Regions from separate parts of the Homo sapiens genome. Here all the other regions are linked to region 1. The links are contacts of gene promoters, found by promoter capture Hi-C in blood cells and fetal thymus (Javierre and others, 2016). All regions are on one chromosome and are shown on one strand. The core of a region is centred on a gene start or on the middle of the fragment in contact, and the rest is flanking DNA. Distances in the headings are between cores, read along the strand shown. Region 1 holds the start of FAM117B (family with sequence similarity 117 member B). Region 2 has its middle 26 kb from the start of CTLA4. Region 3 has its middle 58 kb from the start of CTLA4. Region 4 overlaps CD28 (CD28 molecule). Region 5 overlaps LOC101927840 (a long non-coding RNA gene).

The links. Contacts are between HindIII fragments. The CHiCAGO score rates a contact against its expected background, and 5 or more counts as called.
Region 2: a contact is called between a fragment that was not itself captured here and the fragment with the promoter of FAM117B in region 1, in 1 of 17 cell types (monocytes). The highest score is 6.6, in monocytes.
Region 3: a contact is called between a fragment that was not itself captured here and the fragment with the promoter of FAM117B in region 1, in 1 of 17 cell types (fetal thymus). The highest score is 6.0, in fetal thymus.
Region 4: a fragment that was not itself captured here is called in contact with the fragment with the promoter of FAM117B in region 1 in 1 of 17 cell types (fetal thymus); the score reaches 7.5 in fetal thymus.
Region 5: a fragment that was not itself captured here is called in contact with the fragment with the promoter of FAM117B in region 1 in 1 of 17 cell types (fetal thymus); the score reaches 6.5 in fetal thymus.

What each region holds. Positions count from the first base shown.
Region 1 is chr2:202,633,603-202,636,302 of GRCh38, reverse strand. It overlaps FAM117B (family with sequence similarity 117 member B), which reads right to left and starts at 1,334. Exons shown (of 8, transcript NM_173511.4): 1 at 515-1,334. The coding sequence starts at 1,115. RefSeq lists silencers at 287-726, 827-876, 1,067-1,296. The HindIII fragment of the contact is 4,588 bases long and covers 1-2,700 here.
Region 2 is chr2:203,892,755-203,895,454 of GRCh38, reverse strand. No RefSeq gene overlaps it. Among named protein-coding and RNA genes, the nearest start is that of CTLA4, 26 kb to the right of the region's middle. The HindIII fragment of the contact is 5,290 bases long and covers 1-2,700 here.
Region 3 is chr2:203,808,310-203,811,009 of GRCh38, reverse strand. No RefSeq gene overlaps it. Among named protein-coding and RNA genes, the nearest start is that of CTLA4, 58 kb to the left of the region's middle. The HindIII fragment of the contact is 5,785 bases long and covers 1-2,700 here.
Region 4 is chr2:203,716,787-203,719,486 of GRCh38, reverse strand. The region is part of intron 1 of CD28 (CD28 molecule); the gene reads right to left. Among named protein-coding and RNA genes, the nearest start is that of CD28, 11 kb to the right of the region's middle. The HindIII fragment of the contact is 663 bases long and covers 1,008-1,670 here.
Region 5 is chr2:203,933,240-203,935,939 of GRCh38, reverse strand. All of the region lies in intron 3 of LOC101927840 (a long non-coding RNA gene), which reads left to right. Among named protein-coding and RNA genes, the nearest start is that of ICOS, 2.2 kb to the left of the region's middle. The HindIII fragment of the contact is 1,448 bases long and covers 554-2,001 here.

The DNA.
Region 1 (2,700 bases), core at 85-2,584:
CCTCCTCTGTTCAGTGATCCAAATCTGCCACTGCTAATGCATTCAGTACCCCAGATCTGAAACTGTTTTGTGAACAGAAATACTTAGCAGCAGCAGATATGGGCTATGCCAACATTAACCTTGTCCCTAAAACAAAGTGACAAACCACTCCTAGCCTCACCCTCAAGGGAGGGTAAGCAGTAACGACTCCTCCAGGAGTAAGGCCAGGAAGCCAGGTTTATCATTAACACTCATCAGCTCAAGCCCAAGGTTTAGCCGCTGCACCTCCACCACCAGGGAGCCGTGCGGGGCGGGCAGAGGGGTGAATGAGGCGGGCGGGCGGGCGGGGCGTAGGGTAGGCCCGGGAAAGGCGGGGCCGCACTGCCGGGTCCCCCACCGCCCGGCACCGCCCCCAGCCCCGCCCCCAGCCACCCGGGCTCCGCGGCAGCTCTGCAGTCCCCGCGCGATTGCAGCGCGCGCCCGGGACCCCTTCCCGCAGCCGCCTCCCCCTTGCTGCGCGACCCCCAGCACTTACCTGCTTTGCAAACCGGGGCGCTGGGGCTCCTCTTCTCCGGCGAGCTTCGGCTCTGCTCCGGAGACCTCCTCCGATGCCGGACGCGGGCTGGGGGTGGGGCCGCGCTCACCTCGCCGGTCCACAGGTGGGTGGGCGACGAGCTGGGCGACGACACGGTGCCCAGCAGCGGCGGCGGCGGCGGCGGCCGTGGGGGGCTCCCGCGAGCTCCAGGCGCGGCGCTGCGCGTGGGGCTGGTGCCTCGCGTGGACGTCGCGGACGCGCCCGTCTGCGTGGCCACCGTGGGGCTGGTGCGCGCGGCCGCGTTCCCGCCGCCGCGCGTGGGGCTGGTGCTGCGCGAGGCGGTGCGCGGGCCACCGCCGCCGCCGCCGCCTGCGGGGCCTGAGGCGCCACCACAGCAGCCACCGTTGTTGTTGCCGCCGCCGCCGCCGCCGCTCCGCGTGGGGCTGCCATGTTGCTGCTGCTGCTGCTGCTTCAGCTGGAACGGAACCGTCGCCCTCATGGGCTGCAAGCGGCTCCCGGGTCCCCCGGCCGTGGCCACCGCACCACCCCCAAGGGAGCCGGCCGGCGTGGGGGACCCATTGCGCCTCACCCGCTGGGACATGGTCCCCCCCCTCCCCGGTGACTGGGCGAGACGGGGGGTTTTGTTGTTGTTGGGCTGCAGGGGGAGGATTCTCGAGGCCGGAGGGCAGGCCCCCCAAGACGGGGTGACGAAGCCGGACTCCGGGGTGCAGGGGGAGACCGGGCCGGGGCAGGCAGCAACGAGGTGGTGCAGCCGCCGCCGCCGCCGCCGCCGCTCCTCATCAACAATAGTGTCTCCTCTGCTGCCCCCGCCCCCCACGATCGCCCATTGGTGCAGCGTCAGCCGCGCTCGAGCCGCTCCACTGCTCCCATTGGCTACGAGCAGCTCGGGTCCCGGGCCCCCGAGGCCTTGAGAGCCTGGGTGTGCGCGGAGACCGTCTGCTCTTTAAAGAGAAAGAGACCCGCCCCCCGCGGGGAGGGAGCGGAGGAAATGGGCCCTGTGTGTATGTGTAGTGTGCGCGCGTGTGTGTGTACACGTGAGTGCCCGTGTACGCGCGCGCCTAGCCACGCGCGCCTTTCCTTTCCCGCCGGGGGGAGCCCTGGGGACTCAGACTCTGGAAGGTTGCCAAAGGAAATGTCCAGACCCGGAGCAGTTCCCAGGGATGGTCTGAAGCCTTTTCCGCATAACTCATTTCCTTACCCCAGTGTTCACTTGTGTTCACCTGTACGCGCATCTCGTTCGGGCTTTTATTCTTAATGTTTTTGTTCTGCCCTAATTCCATCTACCTATGGGCAGGGCTCAAAAGGAGAAGAAATTTAACTAATCTTACTGGCATTTTACGCCCCTCTCCTTTTATTTTTTAGAGCTCTACAAAGAGGCAAATCTCAGAAAGATTAAACTTGCCTGTTAGAATGCGATTTTAGATAGTATCTATAGAGTTCAGTTACCACATGTTATTCCTACCCTCCTGTATCTCAAGTAATCAAGACTATTTTAATCAGCTGCTTCGCTGTTCCCTGATACCTTGGAAGGATGGCTGCTACCTTACCAGTTTGTAAAGTGCTATAGTTTACAGAGGGCCTTATTTGATTCTACACGATCATTGTTTGAGACAGAACTGGGACAGCCATCCATATTTTTGTCTAGCGGAGGAAACAAGTCTTTGGTGTGGCAAAGACTCGGGAAGGCAGGCAGTGACACTATTTCTAAAATGACCTAAAGGGCTCCTCATCAAGAAAATAAAAAATGGTGGAGCCAAAACCTACACTCCCACCTGTCTGGCTATAAATTGCCTATCCATGACCTCTTTTCCCTCTACTATTTTTATTAGTTGTACATGCTAGACAGATTTCGTCGTGTAAAAATGTGGGAGTGGAGGGCATAGTATGATTCACTCTGGACCTGAAATCCTACTGGGTCCCTTTGCGCGGTGGTGGAAGGCCTTTTTTTTTTTTTTTTGAGAAGAAGTCTCTCTCTGTCACCTAGGCTGGAGTGCAGTGGCGGAGTGCACTGGCTCGAATCTCGGCTCAGTGCAACCTCCGCCTCCCGCGTTCAAGCAATTCTCCTGCCTCCGCCTCCCAAGTAGCTGGGATTACAGGCGCGTGCCGCCACGCCCCGTAATTTTTCTGTTTTTAGTAAAGAGGCGGTTTCACCATGTTGGCCAGGG
Region 2 (2,700 bases), core at 24-2,523, 1.3 Mb before region 1:
GTAGTGCAGTGGCACAATTATAGCTCACTGTAGCCTCAAACTCCTGGGCTCAAGCAATCCACCTGCCTCAGCCTCCCAAGTAGCTGGGACTACAGGCACATGTCACCACAACCGGCTTATTATTTGCTTTAAAATTCACCAAGTTCATCAGCCAGACGAACAGGGCAAAGAAGAAACACTCACCAAGTTCAAATTCTAAATTCTAATGAATTACCTTAAGAGGGATTCTTGAAACATGAAGGGGGAAAGCAGAAGTGTTTCCCTTTCCTAATTTTATCCCACAGTTGGCAACGAGAAGAAGGGTTCAATTGTACCTAGAAACTCGTTCTGATGTAGCGCTTTATCTGCAATGGTCAACTCTAGCTGCACATTAGAATCAACTGGGGAGTTTTTAAAAAATAACGTTTATGTCCCAGCACTGGTGGTTCTAATTCAATTGGTCTATAACTGGTCTATGTTGGGACCCAAGCAGCAGTTTTTTGTGTTGTTGTTGTGGGGATGTGTGTGTGTGTGTGTGTGTGTGTGTGTGTGTGTGTGTTTTCAGACAGGGTCTCACTCTGTCACCCAGACAAGAGTGCAATGATGCAATTATAGCTCATTGCACCCTGGAACTCCCAGGCTCAAGCAATCCTCCTGCCTCAGACTCCCGAGTAGCTGGGACTACAGGTGCGCACCACTACACCCAGCTAATTTCTAACTTTTTTGTAGAGATGGGTCTCACTTTCTTGCCCAGGCTAGTCTTGAACTCCTGGGCTCAAGCAAGCCTCTGCTTCAGACTCTCAAAGTGCTGGAATTACAGGTGTGAGCCCCTGTACCCACCCCTAAGCAAGGGTATTTTTGAGAAGATTCCCCAGGTAGTTGTAATGAACAACTCAGGTGGGGAACCACTGCTAACTTCATAAATAGGGCCTCCCTGTATCCATTTGTAAAATTAGAATCCTGTGCTCATCTCTGAGGAAAGTGGCTCAGAGGTGTTTCCTGCTCTTGCATGTCACGTACATATTCTTCATAGTTAACTTAGAATGGTTCAGTGACTCATTTCACAAGTCAAAAAGCCCAAATTCCATTTTAGGTAGATCTGAACAATGACAATTGTCAGCCCCTTGCATTTGAAAAGTGCATTATATCTCACAGATCATTTTGCTGATGAAGTATCTCATTTGATCCTTACCACAGCCCTGCAATAAGCAAGTCAGATATTTTTCCCATTTTAAAGATGAGGAAATCAGTGCTTCAAGACAGGGAGTGATTTCCCAGGGTCAGACAGACGGAAGTGGTAGAATTGGGTCTAGAACCCAGGTCTCCTATCTCAGTCTGGTCTTCTTGCCATCACTCAATGCTGGCCACCACTGAGTTTTCCAACCAATTCCTATTGGCCCAGTCCTATGACCTGTCATGGTGTGCTTTCCACTCTGCTTCTCCACCGTAAGGTGCATGCGAATCGCCCAGGGATCTTGTTAAAATGCAGAAGCTGAGTCACTGGGTTTGAAGTGGGTCCCAAGATTCTGCAGTTCTAACCTGCTGTGAGTGACACTGATGCCGCTCGTCCACAAATCACACTTGGAGTAGCAAAAGGCGTAACAAAATCACAAAATGTATTCTTCAAATAATACTGAAGAAAAAAAGTAAACTGAGCTTCATCCATCTTCTGGATGCTCATGAGACAATACACATGTATGGAAGCAAACCCTCATCAGATCCTTGGCAGTTCTCCCTGGCTAGAATATGTGTTATTCTTTTGGCAGCCAGATGATCATTGTGCTCATGTCTGGAATAGGATCAACAGCTGGATTTGCAGCAGCCACTGGCTATAATTTTTCTCTCTCTCTCTCTCTGCTTTGCTTCTCTTTCTCTCAAGCCAGAAGGATAGGGTCTGTGGGGCCACTGGGCCATCTGGCCATGCAGCTGGCCTGAGCTTCTGAGTCTGAGAACACAATGGTGATTCACTTTGTGCAATCCAAGTCCTTAGATGACATCTAGGAAATAAACTGCCAGGGAATAGTTACATAGACAAAGGGTTTTTGTCTTTGAAACCTGTTAAAATTTGTCAGTGGGCCAGTCACGGTGGCTCATGCCTGTAATCCCAGCACTTTGGGAGGCCAAGGCAGGCAGATCACTTGAGGCCAGGAGTTCAAGACCAGCCTGGCCAATATGGCAAAACCCCATCTCTACTAAAAATACAAAAATTAGCCAGGTGTGGTGGTGCACTCCTGTAATTCCAGCTACTGAGGAGGCTGAGGCATGAGAATCAATTGAACCCAGAAGGTAGAGGTTACAATGAGCCTAGATCATGCCACTGTACTCCAGACTGGGCAACAGAGCAAGACCCTGTTGCAAAAACAAACAAAAAAAATATGTTAATGTATTAGCATCGATAAAGATGATCTTTTTCAGTTTGTTCTTATTCTTAAAATAACCAAATTGCTAAATATGTTTGCAGTATACAGAACATCCTAGAGAGCACAAGGGACAGGGACCCCCAAAATGGGTTTAGCTCCACTCTCACCATGGACTAGACAATTTGAGGCAAAGCATTTCATCTTTCTGTCCTTTAAAAAATGAGATGGGCCAGGCGCGGTCACTCATGCCTGAATCCCAGCACTTTGGGAGGCCGAGGAGGGTGGATCACCTGAGGTCAAGAGTTTGAGACCAGCCTGGCCAAAATGGTGAAACCCCGTCTCTACTAAAAATACAAAAACT
Region 3 (2,700 bases), core at 41-2,540, 1.2 Mb before region 1:
ATACAATGTGGAGTATTACCTATTCAAAATAGTCTTCAAGAGGATGTTCATCAAGAACTTTTCCTTGGCCGGGTTCAGTGGCTCATGCCTGTAATCCCAGCACTTTGGGAGGCCGAGGCGGCCAGATCACTAGGTCAGAAGTTCCAGACCAGCCTGGCCAATATGGTGAAACCCTGTCTCTACTAAAAACACACAAAAAAATTAGCCGGGCATGGTGGTGCATGCCTGTAATCCCAGCTACTCAGGAGGCTGAGGCAGGAGAATTGCTTGAATCCAGGATGCGGAGGTTTCGGTGAGCAGAGATCGCGCCACTGCACTACAGCCTGGGCAACAGAGGGAGACTCTGTGTCACAAAAAAAAAAAGAACTTTTCCTCTACTTCCTAGGGGAGAAAGTAGGGAAAATTTTTCCTCATAGCTTCACTGCCTCTCTGCCCCAGCCACACACCCATCAATCTACTGTAGCCCATCAGCCACTGTGTCAATCAGTAGCTGACACAGTCACTGCCCTGTCTTTACTCCTTCAGGCCTTATCTTTCAGTGGGCACTGGTGGACTGGATTTCCAGCAGCCCACCAACTCTTTGTCTGTGGCCTTTCTCTAGCCACCAGAGTCATGAGCAGCTCTCCACCCATGAGCACCCCAGAGCAGACCAACCATGGCTGATGGGAATTGGGTACACTGGTGAACACGGGTGCCCGTTGGGGGAGATGACTCTGGGGTGTATTCCACACTGGCTCCCAGAGGGCCTCAGCAGGATTAAGCTCCAGTTGTCCACAGTGCACACCCTTTGTTGGCTTCTTTCTATCCTCTGCCTCACCCCTCCCCTCCTCTGCCAGGATCACCTCCCAGTAAACTTCTTATTTGGACCCAGAGACACTCATAAAGAAAAGATGATGTAACAAGCTGTAGGGAGAGACGCTGGGACAGAGTCTCCCTCATAGCCATTGGAAGGAACCAAACCTGCTGACACCTTGATCTCAGACTTCCAGCCTCCAGAACTGTGAAATAATCAATTTCTGTTGTTTAAGTCACTCAGTCTGTGGTACTTTGTTAGGCAGCCCTAGCAAGCTAATACAGGATAGGTATCCTGTATCCAAAATGCCTGAGACCAGAATTACTTCAGAATTCAATATTTTTTTTCAGATTTGGGGATATTCGCATTATACTTACCCATGCAGAGCATCCCTAATCCAAAAATCAGACATCCAAAATGCTCCAATGAGCATTTCCTTTGAGCATCATGTCAGCACTCAAAAAGTTCCAGATTTTGGAACTTTTTGGATTTGGGACTTTCGAATTATGGATATGCAACCTATATAGTGGGTATCTGCTAATTAGATGGAAGGTCAGGGAAGGCCTCTCTGAGGAGGTAGTATGTAAGCTGAGGCCTGACTAAAGGAAAGAGCCAGCCATGCATAAGTCTAGGGCAGACCATTTTAAACAGAAGGCACAGCAAAGGCAAAGGCCCTAAGCCGTGAATGGACTTGGAAAGTTCGGAGAACAAAAGGAAGGCCAGTGTGGCTAGAGTTAGTGAGTAAAGGGGAGAATAGTACAGGAGGAGGTTGGAGAGCTCAGCTAATGACTCAGCCATCCTTCTGGCCTCCTTATTCTCACCTCCTCCTGCTTCCACTCTGCATTTTTCTCCAAGTCCCACAATCGTTAGATATAGTTATGACAACTGTCACTGTGGAGAATAAAAAAAGGAGAGCATTAGGAATTAGGATTTTAAATGGCATTAATGATGTAGCTAAACTAGAAGACACTACTCTTAGGTTATGTGAAATATTGTGAGGTTATCTGAAATACTTGGTGGATGGCATATTTGCTTGATGAAACACTAATTTCCTGGTGGAGAACAGACCAAAAATCCCTGGGCCAGAAATCAAATACTTGTTTGCCATTTGTTCTTAGATAATAAGTCATTTACTATCTCTGTGTTTCAGTTTTCTAATCTATCAAATGATTATGAAACTAACACCGTCCCTACCCAACTTGCTATATACAAAAGAAGATTATCCTCAAAAGTATCAGAAGGGAAATAAATGAAATCAAATAGAATATTGAAAGAATACCCTATCATTAACAAATAGTATTGATCCCAGAAGTCAAAAGATAGCTTAATATTTAGATATCTATTAACATTCACTATGTTAACAGATCAAAGGAAAGAAGTTGAACAATAATCAAGAAAGATGCCCAAAAGCCACTTGAAAAAATTCAACATTATTTATGATTTTTTAAAAAAAGTTATCAAGTTAAACAATTTTTCTTTTAATTTCCGGCTTGCTCAGTTAGTAACATATCCTATGTGTTTCTTATAAGCATAGTTGTAGGGTGAAGCATTTCAAAAGCCCTTGCTTTTAATGATTTGTAATTTTTTTAAAAGCTACAAAAAATGGATTTCAGTGATAACAAGCATGAAGGAATAGAATTTCATTATTTAACATTATTTTAAAGGCTTATACTTGTTGCGCTATTTTTGTGCATGTTACTGGTCATGGCCTTAATTTACTAATGCACAGTCTTAAATCAGAAATGCCATCTCCAATAACTGTGTGAAAGATGAAAGAGCACCTGCTCCGGAAGTGGGAATGAGGTTAGCAACAGAGAGCCAGGGGCACAAAATGAATTTTGATATATCTTTTTTTTTTTTTTTAAAAGAATGGGCTGCAGACATTCCTATCTCTCTCTAACAACTCA
Region 4 (2,700 bases), core at 90-2,589, 1.1 Mb before region 1:
TCAAAGTTGGACTTGATAGGGAGGATGGTACCAGATGTCTGGAGTGAGGGTTAGGGAGGAGATTACCATTAAGTAGGGGAGTGAATGGAATGGGAAGAGGACCAGAACAAAATACATTTCATTTTCCCCACTATTTTATTAGAGTCTTATCCTGCAAAAAACCACACTCAACTGGAAGGGAACTTGGAGATGATCTATGCCAATTCCTTATTTTAAAGAAGAGGCTATTGGGGGGAAAAAAAGAGAAGAAGTAAATGACTTTTCAAACAAGGTCACACAAATAATGGAAGAGCTAAGATGTAATTTATTTATTTAGACATCTAGGAGTAATGTTTTAAATCATAAATGGACAGAAAAACAACTTTGTTCATTCAGCAAGACTGAATTTATTTCATGCTCATATCTAGAAAAAAATACATTTCCAAATTTTTTGCCTCTAATGCACATATACAAAACATTTTGCTTACAATTTTGAAGATTTCCTGAAGGTCATAGATGGATCCCAGATAAGGCTTACAGACAGTATGATCACATCAAATAATCTTATAAATTATTTCTGATGCACAAGTAATAATTATACCATTGAGATCTTCCATTCTAGCTTACCCAAGTATACAAAAGGGATTGAACATAGACATGAGTCAACACATGAAATCACATTTCAGTCTGAACTTCACTAGGAAAATCCTTAACTTCAGGGCTTTTGTGAATTACATTTGTTTGTCATAGTTTTTCCTTTTCTTTATCGTAGCACCATAGAGAAATAAAACGTACTGGGAAGCTAAAGAAGCAGTTAGAGAGCTGGAATACATGATTAATTAGCAAAATGTGATTTTCCTCCAGAATCTTTAAGAACTTTATCAGGTTCCATTTATGCACATCATAGTCTGACTTTCTTTTGCAGTTGAAAAATCAGGTTGTAAGATTCTAATTATCTTGTTTCCTTTTAAAAATTCGGACTGAACAGAATTTCACATGTTAGGTAGGAACCAAAAACAATGAAAGCTTCTACTTTCAGCCATTTTGCCCTGTGATATTTGTGAGCACACTGTGAAGGTGATGCTGATTTCCCTGGCATAGAAGAGCACCTCCCTCCTGACCACAGAGCTAGTTAAGTTACTGTAACTTTCCTCTGAGTATATTTCCTGTTCAGGCCCAGGATGCCCTTCAACACGTGACCATCTGACCACTGGCTCCTTTTCAGGCTCTGTAAGGGGTAGGCTCCCCCACAAGACAACCCGGTGGTTGCTCAGGAAACTGTGAGACAAACCGTGCTCCCTGAGAAGAAAGGGGGACTCAACAGTCTATGGCTCTGATAACCTTAGCTGGTGGCCTGGCTTCCTTCTGATAAGAGAAAGAGAAGTACAAAACATTCACCAGACTGTAGCACCTTTCACCATCCTCTCTGAGCTGCAATGAAGATAAAAACAAAGCTATTCATGACCTACCATGCTTTGAATGGACCCAGCCTCTCTCTCCCAGAAATTCATGTTAAAATGAAAAAATGGTAATAATAATGATAATAATGCAAGTTATGGTTTAAAAATAATTCTGTGGTCATTTCATCTAGTTTTCTGTTGACTGTTATCTTGAAAGTCTTCCCATTTTCACAAGAAATGAAGATTTAAGGAAAATCTCTTCACACAGAAAAAGGGGGCTTTGAATAAGCTTGATAAACATGCATATACAGTGGTCCTCTGGATCCATGGGGTGTTGGTTCCAGGACCCCTGCAGATACCAAAATCCATGGAAGCTCAAGTCATGCAATTGTTGGTCCTCTGTATCCATAGATTCTGCATCCCACAAATACTGTTTTTGATCCATGGTTCATTGAATCCAAAGATGCATAACCCGTGGATACAGTGGGCCAACTATATGTTGTCTCATTCCAGATCCCAAATGAAAACAGATGGCACACACAAAATTGGGCAAGAGTAGGAAGGTTATTTATGAAAGGACTGTTGGCAAAGGTGTGGCAAGAGCAGAACCACGAGGGGTAGTGCCAGAGCCTGTGACTTGCAGCAGCAGAATTATGACCACCCTTAGGTCGAAAGAGACCAGGGGACAGCGAAGTTACCAGAACCAGAAGGCAAGAGAGTTGTGTAGTGGAGGCCACCATGACAGAAGCAATGACTTCCATCAAGAGAAGCAGACCAAGCAACCAGCTTTGGCCAAGATTGTGTATATCACAACTATCAGTTATACCAAGCACATTAACTGTTCTTGACAGAAAGTATGGTTTTAAAACAAAATCTAAAGAGGTTTTAGTTTGAACAAGGACAAATGATTATAGGTAACAATATAAATAGAAATAGAATCCTGATTAATAAATTTACTAAAGGCCTGGCACAGTGGATTACACCTGTACTCCTAGCACTTTGGGAGGATGACACAGGTGGATCGCTTGAACCCAGGAGATGGAAACCAGCCTGGGCAACATGGCGAGACCCCATTTCTACAAAAAATACAAAAATTAGCTGGGTGTGGGGGTACCTGGCTGTGGTGGCATGTGCCTGTAGTCCCAGCTCCTTGGGAGGCTGAGGTGGGAGGATCACTTGAGCCCAGGAGGTCAAGGCTGCAGTGAGTGGTGATTGTACCACTGCACTCCAGCCTGAGCAACAAAGTGAGACCCCATCTCAAATAAATAAATAATTTAGTAAAGAAGTTGCTTTTGGTCAGCACTAATCTAAGCCCCACCTT
Region 5 (2,700 bases), core at 28-2,527, 1.3 Mb before region 1:
ATATTACATTTATATTATGTTTTATATGCATGTAAATGGTTACTGTTTGTATATATATTTACATTATAACTATAGTTTATACATACATTAACTCATTTAATCTTCTTAATCATCCCAATGGTGACCACTAATCTCCCATTTTACAGATGAGGAAAACTGAGGCACAGACAGGTAACGAACCTGGCCCAAGTCATATAGTAAGTGTCAGTGCTATGATTTAGAGAGTCTGGCTCCAGAGTCCTCACTCTTAACCGAAGCAGGTAGAACCACCAATACCAAGGCCTGCTGATCCCTCCATCCAGAAGTCTGAACGCGCTTCCAAGATGCTAGATCCAGGCTGGACTTCCCTTAGCCTGCAGAAATGACATTTAGATGAGAAGCTGAAATCAGCTGGCCAGGGAAACCAAGGTGTGAGTCCAAAAGGTCCAGGCTCTGAAACAGATTCCAGGTTTGGGGCTTTAGGCCAGCCACTAGGAATGCCAGACCACAGCCAAGGGGTCTGCAAGGTAAGGAGGAGGCTGATCCTGCAGGGATCCCCCTAGCTGCTGAAGCTTCCCCTAGCTACCTTCTGTAGGGCTCCTGGGTCTCAGCAGTGGGTGTGAAGGAAGCTGTTTGAGGGACTGAGCTAGCCTGAGAAGTAGAGCCTGGGCTGCCAGGACCCCTGGGACCTTGCTACCCCAATCTCCTCCCTTTTCACTGTACTCCCCGTAGCATCATGAGGAAAGGCTTCCAGCCCCACCGGCACTGTGCTAGAGTCCTTTCCCAGCACACAGGCAGGCAGTGGAGAACAATTGACTTCTTCCAACCTAGGTGAGGCCTAGCTCTGGAACTGAGTATGGGGAACTTTAACTTCACTTGAGAAAAGCTGTCATAAGTTCTAGAGCTCAGGGCTGTTGCACAGAGAAAAATACAAAGCAGAAACCTAATAATAAATATGCAATGAGGACATAGTGTGTGCCAGACACGGGGCTCCACGTGCATTGTCTGATCCCGTTCTCAAACAACTCAGCGAGGGAGAGTCTGTTACTTATTCTCATTTCATAGATGAGAAAACTGAGAGTTAGAGAGATTCAGTCATTTGCCCGGAGTCACAGAGCTGATGAGCAACGGAGCCTGTTCAAATCCAGACAGTGAAACTCTGGATTCCAAACTCTTAACTACCCCACCACACTCACACACTTATCCTCATTTATTTGGCTAGAAATTACTGGAAGCATTACTTTTTTTGGTCTCCTATTTTCATGGTGGAAGGATACTTAGGTCCTAGAGGAAATTCCAAGATAATTTGAATGCAAAAAAAGATGTCCTGGTCAATTGGAGGTGTAATGTTTCTACCTCAAGGGGAGAAAAGTTGCACAAGTTATGGTTAAATTCAGCTTTAGTTCAACTGGATATGTGTGGTTTTGTTTGATATGTATCTCTTTGCTTTTTCCCAACCCTCTCGCTTCTCAGTTTGTCAGACACTGGGTGGTAAATTGATCCGATAGTGGAGAAGAGCTCACTTCTATGTAAACAATGTTTTATGTCAAAGTCCTGTTTCAATGATCCTTCCCATGCCTCGCCTTCTCAAAAATCTTGGTCAAGAATACAAGTACTTGTGGTTTAAAATATTCAGAACTGCTTTCACGTGCCTGGAAAATTAACTGGGCAAAAATTTCCATTCACCTCACAGGAAGTGCTTTTAGTTTGCTTTTAATTTTTTTTCATTCCATGACTTAAGATGGTTTTGATTTGTGTATGCAGACGCCTGGGGTGAGGGTGGGGCATGGAAAGTTGGTTACATTAAAAGTGTTTTTTATTTCTTGCCTCCTGGGCACCAGAGTTCATCATGCAGCATGCTTGCTTTTCTGAAGGGCCGTAGGTGAATGTCTTTCTTTTGCTTTGCTTGCAACTTACTGAAAGCAACATTTGTCTGAGTAGAGGAGCTCAGACACCAGCATGGTTGAGTCCAAGCAATAGGGTTAGAAAGTAACCCCCAAATATCTAGGCTTCACCTAAGCTTGGTTTGCCATTCTGAAAGGGACAAGCATCAAAAGTGAGAGGTCCTTCCTAATCACAATTGCTTCAACTCCTACCTTGCCTATACTGTTGAGTGGTACCACCAACCAGCCTTCTCCCTTTTCCTGCTGATTCACCGATAAACCCCAATTACTCTACTTCCTAACTGTCTCTCAAGTATTTTTTCCTCCTCGCTTGCCAAGGTCACTGACTTAGATCAGGCCTCTGTCATTTCTATTCCCACCCTTGTCCCATTTTGGTCTGTCTTCATGCTACAACCAGAGTAATCTTTGTAAAATGTAAATAGAATTCATCTGTGTCCCCGCCCCACCCAGGATCCTCCACTGGCTTCCTCTCTTAGGTAAGGCCCACACCCCTTCAAGATTCCTTATGAAGGGCAACTCCTTCCCCAGTTCGGCCTCATCTCTTGCCACATTTGTTCTTTCTTCCTTCTGTACCAAATGTTTCCATCACGTTGAATGACATGAAGTTCTCCAAATTCCCCAAACTAACTCTTCCTTCTACTGCCAGGAGCCATCATTTTGTCTGTGCTTCCCCTCCTCACCACTCTAGCCTACCTTCTTTGGCAGATATTCCACCATTCTTCAGGCCTTTGCTTCCATACCCATCGATTCATCAAAGACATCAAACCAATGTCATTCACTCCCAACCACCCCCATAACTAGTGTCCATTTAGTGGCT